2 separate regions of the Homo sapiens genome follow, and region 2 is linked to region 1. The links are contacts of gene promoters, found by promoter capture Hi-C in blood cells and fetal thymus (Javierre and others, 2016). All regions are on one chromosome and are shown on one strand. Each heading gives the region's core, a stretch centred on a gene start or on the middle of the fragment in contact. The rest is flanking DNA. Distances are from core to core; before and after follow the strand shown.

Region 1 (7,528 bases), core at 3,108-5,607:
CAGGTTTCTTCCTACAGCTTATAATGATTCAGTTAATTGCAACCTTACCTGTCTGCTCCTCATGTTTCTCTCCACCTGTAAGAACAGGAGATTCTCTGATGCTAGCAGGGGACAGCCTTCCAGAGAGACCGCAGCACCACAGGGGCCTTTATGTGCATGTTTGTCCATCCTTGAAACACAGCAATCACCATAGCTATGGTTCCTAATTAGAGTGAGGGGACTTCTCCTGGAAGGAGCAGATGGGGAGCACGGCCCCGAGTGGGTTGAGAGGACTGAGGGTAGGGTTGTGGCAGAGAGTGTTTTGTGGCTTCCCAGCTGTTGTTGTCAAACCTGCTGCTGACAGGAGCCAGCCTGCCCTTTCCTTGGGGACCCAGACCCCGCACACCCAGATAGGAAAGAAACCAAGGCCTCCTGAGTCAAAGTGCCCACCATGGCAATCCAAAACTCCAGGAGGGAAAATGAAGGCTTTCTGGATTGACTTACAAGGGCAAACTCATCAAGGGCACCTGCTGGGAGCTCGACTTAGGTTTCTTCTCTGCACTTGGCTTCAGGCGAGAGCCGTGAGGAAGCTCTGAAGAGCCCTCATCCCTCAGTCTCAGTTTCTCCCAGTCCCTGTTCTAGGCCACAGATTGCAGAGAACACCTCAGGGTACAAACCACAGGAAGGTGATCTAGAAGGGCCAGGTGAGGAAATAAGTGCAGAGAGGTTAATTGACTCATCCAAAGATGCACAGCTAGTCGATAGCAGAGCCCAGACTGAATGCCAGGACTCCTGGAGGCTAAGTAGATCATGAGGAACACAGCAATTGCTCAAGGAAAAGGAAAATGCTAGAATGCACAGGGGACCAATTGAGACACTGAAAACCAGGCACCAAGACCCATTGGAATCTAATGAGATTAATTTTAGAGTAATAATATCATACTGACCATACTTTACTATGAATATACACTGTGCCAGGCACTTTACTGCATACTGCACATACATTATTTCACTGTGACAAGGATGGTTATCCCCACTTAACAGATGGAGAAACTGAGGCTGGAGGAGTATAAATAACTTACCCAAGACCACATGAATACTGAGGGGAAATGCCAAGATTATCCCCAGCCCTTCTGCCCCCAAAGTTCAGGCCTTGACTTGTTATGATACTGACTTTCATCAAAAGGAGGGCCGTGATTCATGCCTGTAATCCCAGCACTTTGGGAGGCCAAGGTGGGTGAATCTCTTGGGCCCAGCAGTTCAAGACCAGCCTGGGCAACATAGCAAAACCCTGTCTCTACAAAAAACACAAAAAATAGATGGATGTGGTGGCTCATGCCTTTAGTCTCAGCTTCTCAGGAGGCTGAGGTGGGAGGATCACTCGAGCCTCGGAGTTGGAGGCTACAGTGAGCCATAATCATGCCACTGCACTCCAGCCTGGGCCACAGAGTGAGACCCTGTCTCAGAAGAAACAAAAAAAGGAGAAACAATGAGCTGAATGTCCTCATTGATGTCATTTCTTTTAGGTTGCCATATGTTCAGGCCCTAGACTAAGACATCTTCTAGATGAAAGTTAAGACAAAAAGTATAAACCTCCCTGAGAGAAGTCAACTCATGAATGGGCTGGTTGGGCTACATGTGGGTGGTAGAGATGCTTTTTGGGGTCAAGCTTGGGCTTATATGTGTGTGTTTGCCATGTTGAACACTAAGACTCTGTGTCTTGACATTTGACATCTGACCTAGAACCAGGATCCTCCTGGTAGGCCAGGCCAACAAAACAGGGCCTATTTTTTCTAAACATTAGAAACCAAAAGATTTAGTAAAGTTGGTCAGACATTGATGCTGCACACCAAGGTCTATCTGAACAATTGACAGAGCTGGATTCCAGAAAGTTTAATTAGTAAGGGGATGTAGGGGAAAATCCAACATCCTTCCCAGGGAACGGTGCTGTGTTAATTCACTCCTAGGATCCCCTACCTATTACCCTCAGAATAAATCCTTGGCTTGCTTGCTGCCTGGAAGAGAAATCATGCAGGTGTTTCAGAGCATTAAGGAAGTTATTTCTTCCTCATGTTCACTCCGAGGTCAAGGACAAGAATGCTAGCTTTGGCGTTGGGAGGACCTCAGTTCAGTTCCCAGCCTGAACTTAAGTCTTGCACTGCAGTATAAAACAAGTGTTTTACTTTTCACTTCATCACATTATTGGATTTGATTATGTGGATAATCAGGGCTGCTCCAGAGCATATTTGCAGGGCAGTCTACGCAGTAAGCCATACATGGCAGCTCTGCAAAACCGGCACAGCAGACAGTGGTGTGAAGTCCACCCAGCAAAGCTCCCTCTCTTTCCCCATTCCCCATTCTGTTCCAGCTCAATGCAGGAAGTGTATGAAATTCACCCCCTATAAGCCAGGCCCTGTGCTGGGTGCTAGGAGTAGAGCTACAATGAAGTCAAGATTCCTGCTGCCCAGAGACTTCCACTCTAATAAGAGAGACACAGGGAAGTAAACATAATCTCAGTGAGGTATGAGGCATGCCATTAGAGGCATGTAGAAGAATGGAAACTGCACAGAGGAGTGTGAAGTTAAGTGTCTTAGAGAGGGGTAAAAAGACTTGCAGAGAAGTGATACATAAACCAAGTTTTGGAAGACGAACAGAAACAGTGAAAATGATAGAGTGAGCAGAGGGGAAGAGCTCATAGAAAGGGATAGAGTACGAATCAGAGGATCCCTGGGCTCTTTCAGGAATGTGGCTACTCACTTATTATGTCACCAGCACAGCTCACCAACTCGGACATATGGAGGAACAGCTCCTCTCACCTGCTCCCTGCTTGTGCCTCCATGGGTCTCTGACCCCCTTAGCTTAGGCCTCCTGCTCCTAATTCTGGCCTCCAGGCCCATGGCCCCAGTAACATGTTTTGGATCCATTTCCCTGGCCTTGACCTTCTGGACTCTTTTGGGCATAATCCACTCTACGATCGGCAACTGTGAATGAGAAACCCTCTTCCTTCCACCCTGCCCTGTGGTGTCCCAAAGGCCAGGCCAGCCCAGCTTCCCCAACAGTGACCAGATGCATACAAGGATCTGTAAGTGTCTCATGGAGCTAGATTACCACACATGAGTGGCAGTAGACATGGTTCCAGAAGCAGACAGGACACCAGTCCGATTCTGGCTAAGGAGTCCTGCAGACATGGGGAGCCACTGAAGGGCCTGATGCTGGGGACTGGCAAATTCTGAGTTGCCTTCCCAGGGGCTGCTCCAGAGAAGACAGGGTGGATGTATTGGAGAGAGAAGTACTAGGAGCAAAGAAAAAAAAATGCATGGAAGACCATTGCACTAGTTGAGCAAGACGTTGAGTAGGAGACAAAGTCAGGCTTCCCTGCCTTTTGTGGCTAAGACAATCATGGACCTCCCTGAAGGCAGGGGCAGAACAGACCTGAGGTCCCCCTCACTCTCTCTCGTGATTCTGATTGTTATTGAAAGCTGCCTCCTACCACATCACTATCATCATTCCTCCCCCGATTCTCTACCTCCTGCTTCTTTTCCTCCTCCTCCTATTCCTCCTCCTCTTCTTCCTCCTCTCGTCTCTCTCCCTCCCTCTGTCCCTGCTTCTTCTTCCTCCTCATCCTCCTTCATCTTCTTTCTCTCTCTCCCTAAAGCAATATGCCTTGCCTCCTGCCTCTAGCTCAAGCTGCCAGACAAGACAAAATGGAAAAGTAAGACAGAAAAGGAAGTCTGAACTATAAAAAGCCAGCTGAAGAGCAATCAGCACGTGTCTGGGAGAGGCAGACGCGACAGGAGGAGCTCGGCCTTACCACTGTCAATCAGAGGTTCCTGAGTAAGGAGACCTGACAAAGGTTTGGGCCTTCAGGAGTCTGGAAACCCTGGGATGCTCAACAACAACAACAACAAAAAACAACAACTTTTGTCATGGATTTCATCACCTAGGATCCTGGAGGAGGAAATCACAGCTCTCCCCAGCGATCCCGCCAGGCAGATGGTGGGAAATAGAGATCCATTGAATAGCACCCACAGGCTCATGTTCCGGCTTCCCTTGTGACCACCTGCCACCTCCACTGTGGCCCAGAACCATCTTCAGTGACTCTCCACAGGTCACAGCAACCTGTTTACAGACGGCTAGAATTCCCAAGCACTTTTAGGACAGGGGACTCGGGATGGTTCCAAGCAGACAGCAAAGTCTTCTCTAAGAGAAGCCGCTCCTCCCGATCTATTTTTGCCGATGTAAACACTTGCCAAGGAAACGAGGCATGTGGGCATGCGCCGGCCCTGCAGGCCCTCGGGTTGCTGCAAAAGGCAACTGGAAAGTCACATGTCATAACAGTGGAAAGTACATATGCAACTATTCTTAGCCCTGGAATGTATACACTGTCTCCCTGCCCAGCAGTCCTTGCACAAAGCTCTAGAAAACTATGAAAGTGCCTTCAGCATAAACAAATCCAGAAATCTCCCAGGACAAATCATTTGCCAACTGAAAGAAAGGCCTGGGGTTTATGGTTTCCCTTGGAGCTAGAGGTAGAAACTCTCCGGGGGGATAAGTCAGACCAGGCACCAGTGGATGTCACCGCAGCAAAACAAGGTAAGTGTCCCTCATACTTATTTCTTCTGCAAGTAGAAAACCAGGTGTCATCCAATAAACCAGGGGATTGTTTGGTCTTTCCTTTTATTTATTCTATCTTTAAAACAAGACTCAATGAAGTCATATTTAAATATATGCATCAAAGGTCCATTTTCTTCCCTCATTTCTGTCCAGTGACCAGAGGGCCACACCTCCAGAATATCATCCTTGGGGAATGATTGACACCCAGAAAGAGAGGTTTAGACATCTGTTACTCAATAACAGATATGCCATCGATCTGGAAAAAGGCTCATGAACTTCTGCTGGTCAAATCCATGGACTGTTATCTTGCTTCAGACTAACATTTCAGCTTCTGATAACAGAGTAACTTCCAACAACTTTAGTTTGTTTGTTTGGTTGTTTCTCTCAGATTAGCTGAAGATACTATTTGCCTATTACTTTTGAAAATAACCATAACCCAAAAGGGCTCAGGTCTGAGATGTATGTGGCCTTCCTTTCCAATCTTCCCTACACAATATCCATGGTGACATCCGCAAACATCATGGGGAATGGAATAGGAGCACTGGTCTTGGAGTCCCCACAGCTGAACCCTCCAGCACATGCAGCTGAGAAAGGTTTGACTCTTGCTGACTCTGGGGGCTTCCTTCCCTCTTTGTAGGATGGACGAGGAGTCACTAGATGGGCTGCTCTTCAAAGACCACGACTTCTCTTCTGACTTGTTGAGGCAGCTCAACAGCTTAAGGCAAAGCAGGATCCTGACTGATGTGAGCATCTGTGCCGGTGCCCGGGAGATCCCCTGCCACCGCAACGTGCTGGCCTCCAGCAGCCCCTACTTCAGGGCTATGTTCTGCAGCAGCTTCCGGGAGAAGAGTGAAGCCAAAGTGCAGCTGAAAGGCATTGACCCCCCAACCCTGGACCAGATCGTCTCCTACGTGTATACGGGGGAGGCACATATTGCCACTGACAATGTCCTCCCCGTGATGGAGGCCGCCTCCATGCTACAGTTCCCCAAGCTGTTTGAGGCCTGCTCCTCGTACTTGCAGAGCCAGTTGGCCCCCAGCAACTGCCTGGGTATGATCAGACTCTCAGAAATCTTAAGCTGCGAGACCCTCAAGAAGAAAGCCAGGGAGGTGGCACTGACGTCCTTCCCAGAGGTGGCCGCATCGGCCGACCTGAAGGAGCTCTGTGCCTTGGAGTTGAGGGACTATCTCGGAGATGATGGGCTCTGTGGGGAGGAGGAAAAGGTGTTTGAGGCCCTCATGGTTTGGATCAAGCATGACCTCCAGGCCCGGAAGCGATACATGCAGGAACTGTTCAAGCAGGTCAGGCTGCAGTACATCCACCCAGCCTTCTTTCACCACTTCATCGCCAACGATGCCCTCCTGCAGTCCTCGCCTGCATGCCAGATCATCTTGGAGACCGCCAAGAGACAGATGTTCTCTTTGTGTGGCACCACCGTCCCAGACTGCAAACTCCTGTTGCATGTCCCTCCAAGAAACTCTTACCAAGATTTCCTCATCCTCTTGGGCGGAAGGAAGGACAGCCAGCAGACCACCAGGGACGTCCTACTGTACAGCAAACAGACCGGCCAATGGCAGAGCCTTGCCAAACTCCCGACACGGCTGTACAAGGCCTCTGCCATCACCTTGCACCGCAGCATCTATGTGCTGGGGGGCATGGCTGTCAGCTCAGGGAGGAGTCTGGTCAGTCACAATGTCTACATCTTCTCCCTGAAACTCAATCAGTGGAGGCTGGGGGAGCCCATGCTGGTGGCCCGCTACTCCCACAGAAGCACTGCCCATAAGAACTTCATCTTCTCCATCGGGGGGATTGGAGAAGGGCAGGAGCTCATGGGCTCCATGGAAAGGTATGACAGCATCTGCAATGTCTGGGAGAGTATGGCCAGCATGCCCGTGGGGGTGCTCCACCCCGCAGTCGCTGTGAAAGACCAAAGACTCTATCTCTTTGGAGGAGAGGACATCATGCAGAACCCTGTGCGCCTTATCCAGGTAAATGGCCGGTTCTTCCCATCACGTAACTGCATGAGTATGTGTGCTTGGACACACCCACACCTGCTTGCACACACATGCACATGTATACATACACACCAAAAAACACATATATGCACATAAATATATATATGCACACATATACACAAACACACATATGCATACATGCGTGCACACATATATGCAGAAATGTATATTCATGCATACATGCATACACATATGCACACATATATGCAGATGCCAACATGCATACGTGTGCACATGCATACACATATACAATTCATGCATGCATACACACATTTACATATATCTACACATGCATGCACACATTTATACATATGCACGAACACAAATACGTACATGCATACATGCACACACATGTGCACCCATGTACACACATACCAACACTTGTTATTTGCAAGGAAGGAAGAGAGGAAGGGAGGGAGGGAAGAAGGATTTTCAGCAAGATATTTTTCAATTTATGAATTTTTTTGTGCAAAAATAATACATAACAAAGGATATCAAATACCATCCCTATGCACAGAGTTTATCTTCATTTGATGAGAAAAATATATATCTAAAAATTCAAGTTATTATACAGCATATTGAAAGTCAGATAGTGAAGTCCCATAGGAATTTGGCAGGTGCTTCTAACTCAAGTCAGTAAGGCCTTAAAAGAAGATTCCCAAGCCTTGGTCCACACCTCTGTGACCAAATCCCCTGGAACCTGACCTCACATCACTGAATCAAAATATCTTTGTGTGAGATCCTAAAATGTATGGTTTACAAAAGTCCCCAGGAGACTCTAAGTTGCAGCCAGGTTGGGAAACCCCTACTTTTAATGATCGGCAGACATTAATTTCACTAACAAGCTGTCTGAGAAGTATGCTCAATAAAGGCCACATTTCAGAATATTAAGTGTTTTCCAGCTTTATGCAAGTTCCTGG
Region 2 (7,528 bases), core at 2,091-4,590, 190 kb after region 1:
AGACCAGCCTGGGCAACATGGTGAAACCCCATCTCTACTGAAAACACAAAAATTAGCCTGGCATGGTGGCGGGCGCCTGTAATCCCAGCTACTCAGGAAGCTGAGGCACAAGAATTGCTTGAACCCAGGAGGCAAAGTTTGCAGTGAGCCAAGATCGTGCCACTGCACTCCAGCCTGAGTGACAGAGCAAGACTCTGTCTCAAAAAAAAAAAAAAAAAAAAAAAAAGATGTTATGCTGAGTGAAAAAAGCAATCTCAAAAGGGTACGTACTATACAATTCCATTTACAGAACACTCTTAAAATGACAAAATTCTGGTGATAGAGAACAGATGAGTGGTCGCCAGGGGTTAGGGTTGGCAGGAGGGCCTGACTACAAAGCTTTAGTATGAGGGAGTTTCTCTGCAGTGACGGAAGCTGGTGACGGTGTCCTTGTTTTGGTAGTGATTACACATATCTATATGTGTGACAAGATTTCACAGTACTGTTTATACACATGCACACACAAGAGCATGTCAAAATTCATGAAAATCAAGGTCTATAGTTTAGTTCACAGTATTGTGTCAATGTCAATGTCAATTTCCTAGTTTTGAAAATGTACGGTGGTTCTACATTATCAATGGGGAAAGCCAGATGAAGGGTACATGGAACTCCCTTTTATTTTTGCAATTTCTTCTGAGTCTTAAATTCGTTCAAAATAAAAGGGTTTTAAAAATGGCTCTGGCTCAGTATCGTCTCTCCCCTGGGGCCCACACTTTTTTTTCCTGAGACAGAATCTGTCTCTGTTGCCCAGGCAGGAGTGCAGTGGTGTGATCTGGGCTCACTGCAACCTCCATCTCCCAGGTTCAAGTGATTCTCGTGCCTCAGCCTTCCAAGTAGCTAGGATTACAGGCGCATGATACCACACCCAGCTAATTTTTATATTTTTAGTAGAGACAGGGTTTCACTATGTTGGCCAGGCTGGTCTCGAACTCCTGACCTCAAGTGATCCGCCTCCCAAAGTGCTGAGATTACAGGCGTGAGCCACAGTGCCCAGCCAAGGGCCCACATTTAAGTCCCAGGAAACACTCTCTCATCTCTTGCCCCAACAAACCCTGGGAACACAGGACCAAACCCAGCCCTCTGTGTCCTGCTGCCACAGGCCACTCTAGCCAGTTACATATTTCTCAACCATAGGAAATATGTAAGTTAAATATGTGGTCCTATCAGAGCCCCCATCGTACCCTTGAGGTGAAGGTGGTAGCACTCCTGGCCCTTACCCCTGGGGAGGGAGAGTGGAGGCACAGCCTGGCAATGCTCTCTCCAGTGGCGTCTCTCTACCCTTCCTCCTCCTCATGCCGCTGCCACTCTGACCTCTCGTGTATTCAGTCTGAGGGCATCCAGGGTTAGGCAACATGTTCACGAGCATTTCCCTGCTGTTATGGATGCTGTGGTCCCTGCCCAAATATCCCCTTCAGGCCCTCATTTCTATTCCAAGTCTCTCTGAAAATTGCTCTAAGCTGAAGGGAGTTACCGTGATCACATCTCTGTCCCAGGGGCAACCTGCATCCATTGACTGGTCCCTTTAGGGGTATAAAGACCCAGCCTCCTTGCTCCAGAAGGGAACAACTCTGCAAGACCATCTCTATTAGTCTGTTCTCACACTGCTAATAAACACATACCTGAGACAGGATAATTTATAAAGGAAAGAGGTTTAATGGATTCACAGTTCCACATGGCTAGGGAGGCCTCACAATCATGGTGGAAGGTGAAGGAAAAGCAAAGTCACGTCTTAACATGGCGGCAGGCAAGACAGCATGTGCGGGGGAGTCCCCTTTATAAAACCATCAGATCTCGTGAGATGTATTCACTATCATGAGAACAGCACAGGAAAGACATGCCCCCATGATTCAATTACCTCCCACCAGGTCCCTCCCACGACAAGTAGGAATTATGGCAGCTACAATTCAAGATGAGATTTGGGTGGGGACACAACCAAATATCACCATCCCAGCTCTAGAGGTCTCTGGGGATTGGCTGAGTAGGGATTGCATCACAGTTCAACACCTCCCTGTGTCTCATCCTGCTTCCTTTCTTCCCCCTTAGCTGCTGAGCCCCAAACACTCCCCCAATAAACTGCCTCCATACAAATGTCCATCAAGAGCCTTTTACGAGGAACCTAACCTGTGACACTTGATGAATTCTGTATACCACGTCAATCTCACACTCACTTTGGATTCTGATATCTATTTAATTGGTGCCTGAGTCAAAACTGAGAAATGGGAAGTCCCACTTAACATCATGGTATACTTATAATAGGAATAAACAATATCAATCAAAGAGAAACTTAATAAAGCATGGCAAATCAACTTTATGAGTTATTCAATAGACGGTAAAAAGTATAAGCATTTCACAGCAAAATATTCCAGAAGAATAACTGTGATCTAATATTAAGAGAACACAAAATTTATTTTGGATTGAAACCAAAAAAAGCAATAAAGAACATCTTGGGGATATCTGGAGAAGTTTGAATACAGACCACATATTAGACATCATTGTTGCATCAATGTTAAGTTTCTTAGACGTGATAATAATATCATCATAAAGCAGAAGAATATCTTTCTTAGGAAATCCTTCTGAAGTATTTATAGGTGAAGTCTCATGATATCTGCAACTTGCTTTCAAACTGTTCAAACAGAAAAATGTGTTTTTCAGTGAGAAAGAGAGAAAGAAAAAGTGTTCTTCCCTACAAAGAGCAGGAATAGTCACTTCCTGGAGCCACCGTATTCCCATTCCTGTACTAAATGCTCCCCCTGGTGTACCAAGAGAGCAGAATGCATTCATTAAGATGTATTTCAAAATGCCCTTCACAGTGGGAAAGCAAAGCCCCAAGACTTTTACAGAACGTGATCAAAGTGTCAGACTTTTTAATTTATCTTCTCCCAAGTCCTAACCAACAGTGTAGTTCCTGTTCCCCAGTTTGCTCTCTATGGTGTCAAAATCTTGAGTTTCAATTCTGGTGAATTGGGGGCATGCTTGGGGAAGGAGTGAAGAGAAGGGTACCTGTAGCCATGCCCATGAATGCATGAGCTCTGGAGTCAAACAGTCAAATGAATCCCACTTTGGCCACTTACTAGCTGGGGGACCTCTTTGAGTGTCCGCTTCGTAATCTGTGAAGTGGGAATGATAACAGGACTCATATCAAAGAGGATTAAATGAGATAACACAGACCAAGACTTAGCATGGGGCTTGGCACATGGTCTAATTAGAATTCAATAAGTAGTAATCAATTATTATCATCTCCTTCTTTTTGAGGAGGCTTCTAAGAGAGTGCCTTAGAAGTCCTAGTGCCTTGTGTACTTCAAAAACTACTGCCCTAGAGTATCTGAGTTGTAGACTTAACTCTGCTGAGAAAATCCACCCAATGTTCTTTCTACAAAGTTATAATAACTAATCTCATATTAAAAACAAAACACAGGCCCAGCACGGTGGCTCATGCCTGTAATCCCAACACTTTGGGAAGCTGAGGCAGGCAGATCACAAGAGGTCAGGAGTTCAAGACCAACCTGGAGAGCATGATGAAACCCTTTCTATACTAAAAATACAAAAAAATTAGCCAGGCGTGGTGGCATGCACCTGTAGTCCCAGCTACTCGGGAGGCTAAGGCATGAGAATCGCTTGAACCTGGGAGGAGGAGGTTGTAGTGAGCTGAGATCACGCCACTGCACTCCAGCCTGGGTGACACAGCGAGACTGTCTTAAAAAAAATTTTTAAAAAGAAAACCTCCCTTTTAGGGATACATGCACTGAAAAATATTTTTTCACTAGATTTCCCTGTCTCACACATTATTTCCAAGAAAAATGATTTTTTAAGTTCTGTAATTTTCTGCTCACCCGTGGGCCTCCTGGGCTTTTGCCTGTGACACTCTAGCCATAGCCTCCTCCAAAGCAAGTCACTCTTGTGCCCCATGTCAAGAAGGAGCACAAGAGTCTCTCTCCTCTGCCCCAATTTCATGCTCCCATCTCCTCTTCCCCTCACATACTTCCTCTTGCTCTATCTCCTTTCCTTTCAATAAATCCTTATTAAGCATCTACTCGCTGAAAGACACAGTTCCTGCTGTTCTTGAATATACAAAGTTATCAAGGTCATAGTTCTGCTTTTTATGAGTTTATGGTCTAATAGGCCAGACTCCTGCAGGAAAGCCCAACATGTGAAAGGACCTAGGGTGTCATTATAGCAGATACTAAGCATGGTAGAGCAGAAGACAACACCAGGCTGGGGCTAAGGAAAGCTGGGCTAAAGTCCTAGATTTGTTACATACTGGATATGTGAGCTTGAGCAAGTGAAATAACCTCTCGGGGTGTAGATATTATCATCTGGAAACTGCATTGGGTTGAGTTTCCCCAATGCATGCCTTGAGACAGGAAATTCGGTAGAAGTTGTTTATTTGGTAGGTGATCCTAGGAAACACCAGTAGGGAGTGGGGACGTGAGTCAAGGAACAAGGAAGCCAGCCAGGTCACTGAGCAGGTGCCAAGAGGATAGGCTGTTGTGGGCAGCTGGGGACCAAGGCTGCTGGGGACCCTGGGAGATGGTGCAGCGTCTAGCCCAGAGTTGTACCCTCCAAGGAGCAAGAAAGCTAAGCCACTTATCCACCTACTCCCACCCATCAGGGCTGAAGGCTGCTCCAGAATGTATTAACTCCATGCTTCCCGCCTGCCCAAGCCAGGACCAAGTGTGTTAGGTCACTTAGGCAAGGAATAGTAAGGAGGGTGCCTATGGAAAGCAGGGATTGACAGCATCCATACACCACCTGCAAACACTGTACGGAGGAATACATGAAAGAAAGATTCCAAAAGCTCAGAGCAGAGTACCTGACAGAAGTGTGAAATGTGCCTGAATGTAGAAGTCAGACGGCACGCCTCCTCAACTCATCTCTGGATGCTGGCGCATGTTATTATTCTCTCCTTGCTTCCTTTGCAACGTTCAGCCAATACAAACTCCACTACGTCGTCAAACCAAACCTACCAAGTCCATTCTTCCCTCATTTCACTCCCAACCCCCTGCCACTGCATGCAGGTCTCCCCCAGCTGGTCTCCACTGACCCTTCTGCCAGCCCAAACCTGTCCACCACAGCCAAAGGACACTGCAAAACGCTGGTCTTCTCACATCTGATGTTGAAGAGCTTACCCTGACCGCTTTTTTCCTACAAGATTCAGCCCTACATCACATCTTGTGGTTCAAGGCTGTCCAGTAGTAAAGACATCCCGTGTGCCACAGACAGCCCACTCCATCTTTTCCCCTTGGCTCTCACCTCTGCAATATGCCCCTCCTTAGACCCAAGACCAGCACAAGAAGCAATGCCCTCATTTTGCCTTTGGATTTATTCCAGTGTGACTGAATCTCCACTTTATGGTGTAGTGATTCTGGAGTCAGGCCCAGGTTCAAATCACATTCCTTTACATATTAACTGTGCTACTTTGGGCAAGTTGCCCACTCCCATTTCTTCATCTGAAAAATAAGGATAATAATCATTCCTACTTCATAAGGTTATTGTAAGGACTAATAATTTCATGCCCAATAAGTAGTTTTGAGCAGTGCCTGGCACAAAATGAGTACTCCATACATATTATCTGTCATTAGGGGTTCTCTCAAGGTACTATTTAAGATTTTTTTTTTAAAGAAATCAAGAGATATCTGCTGTGAAATAAAAATCACGTACATTGGGCTGGGCGCAGTGGCTCATGCCTGTAATCCCAGCCCTTTGGGGGGCCGAGGCAGGCGGATTACCTGAGGTTGGGAGTTCGAGACCAGACTGATCAACATGGAGAAACCCCGTCTCCACTAAAAATACAAAATTACCCAGGCATGGTGGCGCATTCCTGTAATCCCAGCTACTTGGGAGGCTGAGGCAGGAGAATCGCTTGAACCAGGAGGCGGAGGTTGCGGTGAGCTGAGATCGTGCCATTGCACTCCAGCCTGGGCAATGAGTGAAACTCCATCTCAAAAAAAAAAAAAAAAAAAAGAATGATGTATATTGGTCTCCACCCCAAGTTCCTGGCACAGAGCTTCGAAAACCCTTGTGATTTCCTGAGCAATAGGGGTTCTAGGAGAAACTTTTGTTGGAATTATTGGGTCTCTGCCCCAGGTACCTGAGACAGAGCTCTTAAACCTTTGATTTCCTGAGTAATAGGAACACCTGACTTAGAGTTCCTGAATCCCTTGGAATTTTTCTGAGGAACATCTTTTTTTCTAATAAGGGGACTCTTGGTGAGCTCCTGGACAGGGGCTGCTCACTGGAAAGACTAAGCAATGATTAGAAGCTTGGAGCTTTCAGCCCCATCCTCCATTCTTTAGAGATGGGGAAGGGCTAGAGACTGAATTAATCTTCCATCATGCCTACCTGATGAAGCCGAAGTACTGAACTATGGGGTTCAGAGAGCTTCCGGATAGCAGAACACGTCCATGTGCTGGGAGGGTGGTGCACCCCAACTCCATGGGGACAGAAGCTCCTGCACTCAGGACCCTTCCACACCTGATCTCTTCATCTGGCTGTTCATCTACATCTTTTTTTTTTTTTGAGACAGGATCTCACTCTGTCACCTAGGCTGGAGTGCAGTGGCATAATCACGGCTCACTGCAGCCTCGACGTCCTGGGCTCAAACAGATCCTCCCACCTCCTGAGTAGCTGAGACTACAGGCACACACCACCACATCTGGCTAATTTTTTCATTTTATTTTATTTATTTGAGACGGAGTCTCACTCTGTTGCCAGGCTGGAGTGCAGTGGCACGATCTCGGCTCACTGCAACCTCCGCCCCCTGGGTTCAAGCAATTCTTTTGCCTCAGCCTCCGGAGTAACTGGGACTGCAGGCATGCCACCATGCCCAGTTAATTTTTTTGTATTTTTAATAGAGGTGGCTCACGCGTGTAATCCCAGCACTTTGGGAGGCCGAGGCGGGTGGATCACGAGGTCAGGAGATCGAGACCATCCTAGCTATCACGGTGAAACCCCATCTCTACTAAAAATACAAAAAATTAGCCGGGCGTGCTGGCGGGCGCCTGTAGTCCCAGCTACTCGGGAGGCTGAGGCAGGAGAATGGTGTGACCCAGGAGGCGGAGCTTGCAGTGAGCCGAGATCGCGCCGTTGCACTCCAGCCTGGGCAACAGAACGAGACTCCGATTCAAAAAAAAAAAAAGAAAGAAAGTACCAACTATTTTTCCTGTCTCACACATCTGCTAAAAAGGTTTTCTCTCTTCGCATGAGCTCATGGGCTTTCTGAGCATTTCTGTACCCAGATCGCAGCTTAATGCCATATATGCCACAGAAACACACCCCTGACCAGCACACAGACAGCTACTTAGCTGTTTAATGGTTTCACCTAGACTCACAATTTCAAGGTCTCACTTTCACTCACAGCAGCCCAATCAAAGGGTTAGAATTGGTAAACAAACAGGCTCGGAGCGGTATAACAGAAAAATAATTTCTTTTGGCTTTTCTTGCTCTTGGTCAATGAAACTTTGATCAGAGAGAACATCTGAGGCTATACTTG

Evidence for each region. The method cuts DNA at HindIII sites, captures the fragments that hold promoters and counts their contacts. A CHiCAGO score of 5 or more calls a contact.
Region 2: a contact is called between a fragment that was not itself captured here and the fragment with the promoter of KLHL38 in region 1, in 1 of 17 cell types (naive CD8 T cells). The highest score is 5.3, in naive CD8 T cells.

The regions. Positions count from the first base shown.
Region 1 is chr8:123,650,630-123,658,157 of GRCh38, reverse strand. It overlaps KLHL38 (kelch like family member 38), which reads left to right and starts at 4,357. Exons shown (of 4, transcript NM_001081675.3): 1 at 4,357-4,572; 2 at 5,231-6,581. The coding sequence starts at 5,232. LOC105375738 (a long non-coding RNA gene) reads right to left here and starts at 220. Exons shown (of 4, transcript XR_928606.3): 1 at 49-220. The HindIII fragment of the contact is 6,101 bases long and covers 1,651-7,528 here.
Region 2 is chr8:123,458,273-123,465,800 of GRCh38, reverse strand. It overlaps a transcript of NTAQ1 not described here. Among named protein-coding and RNA genes, the nearest start is that of NTAQ1, 45 kb to the right of the region's middle. The HindIII fragment of the contact is 5,920 bases long and covers 381-6,300 here.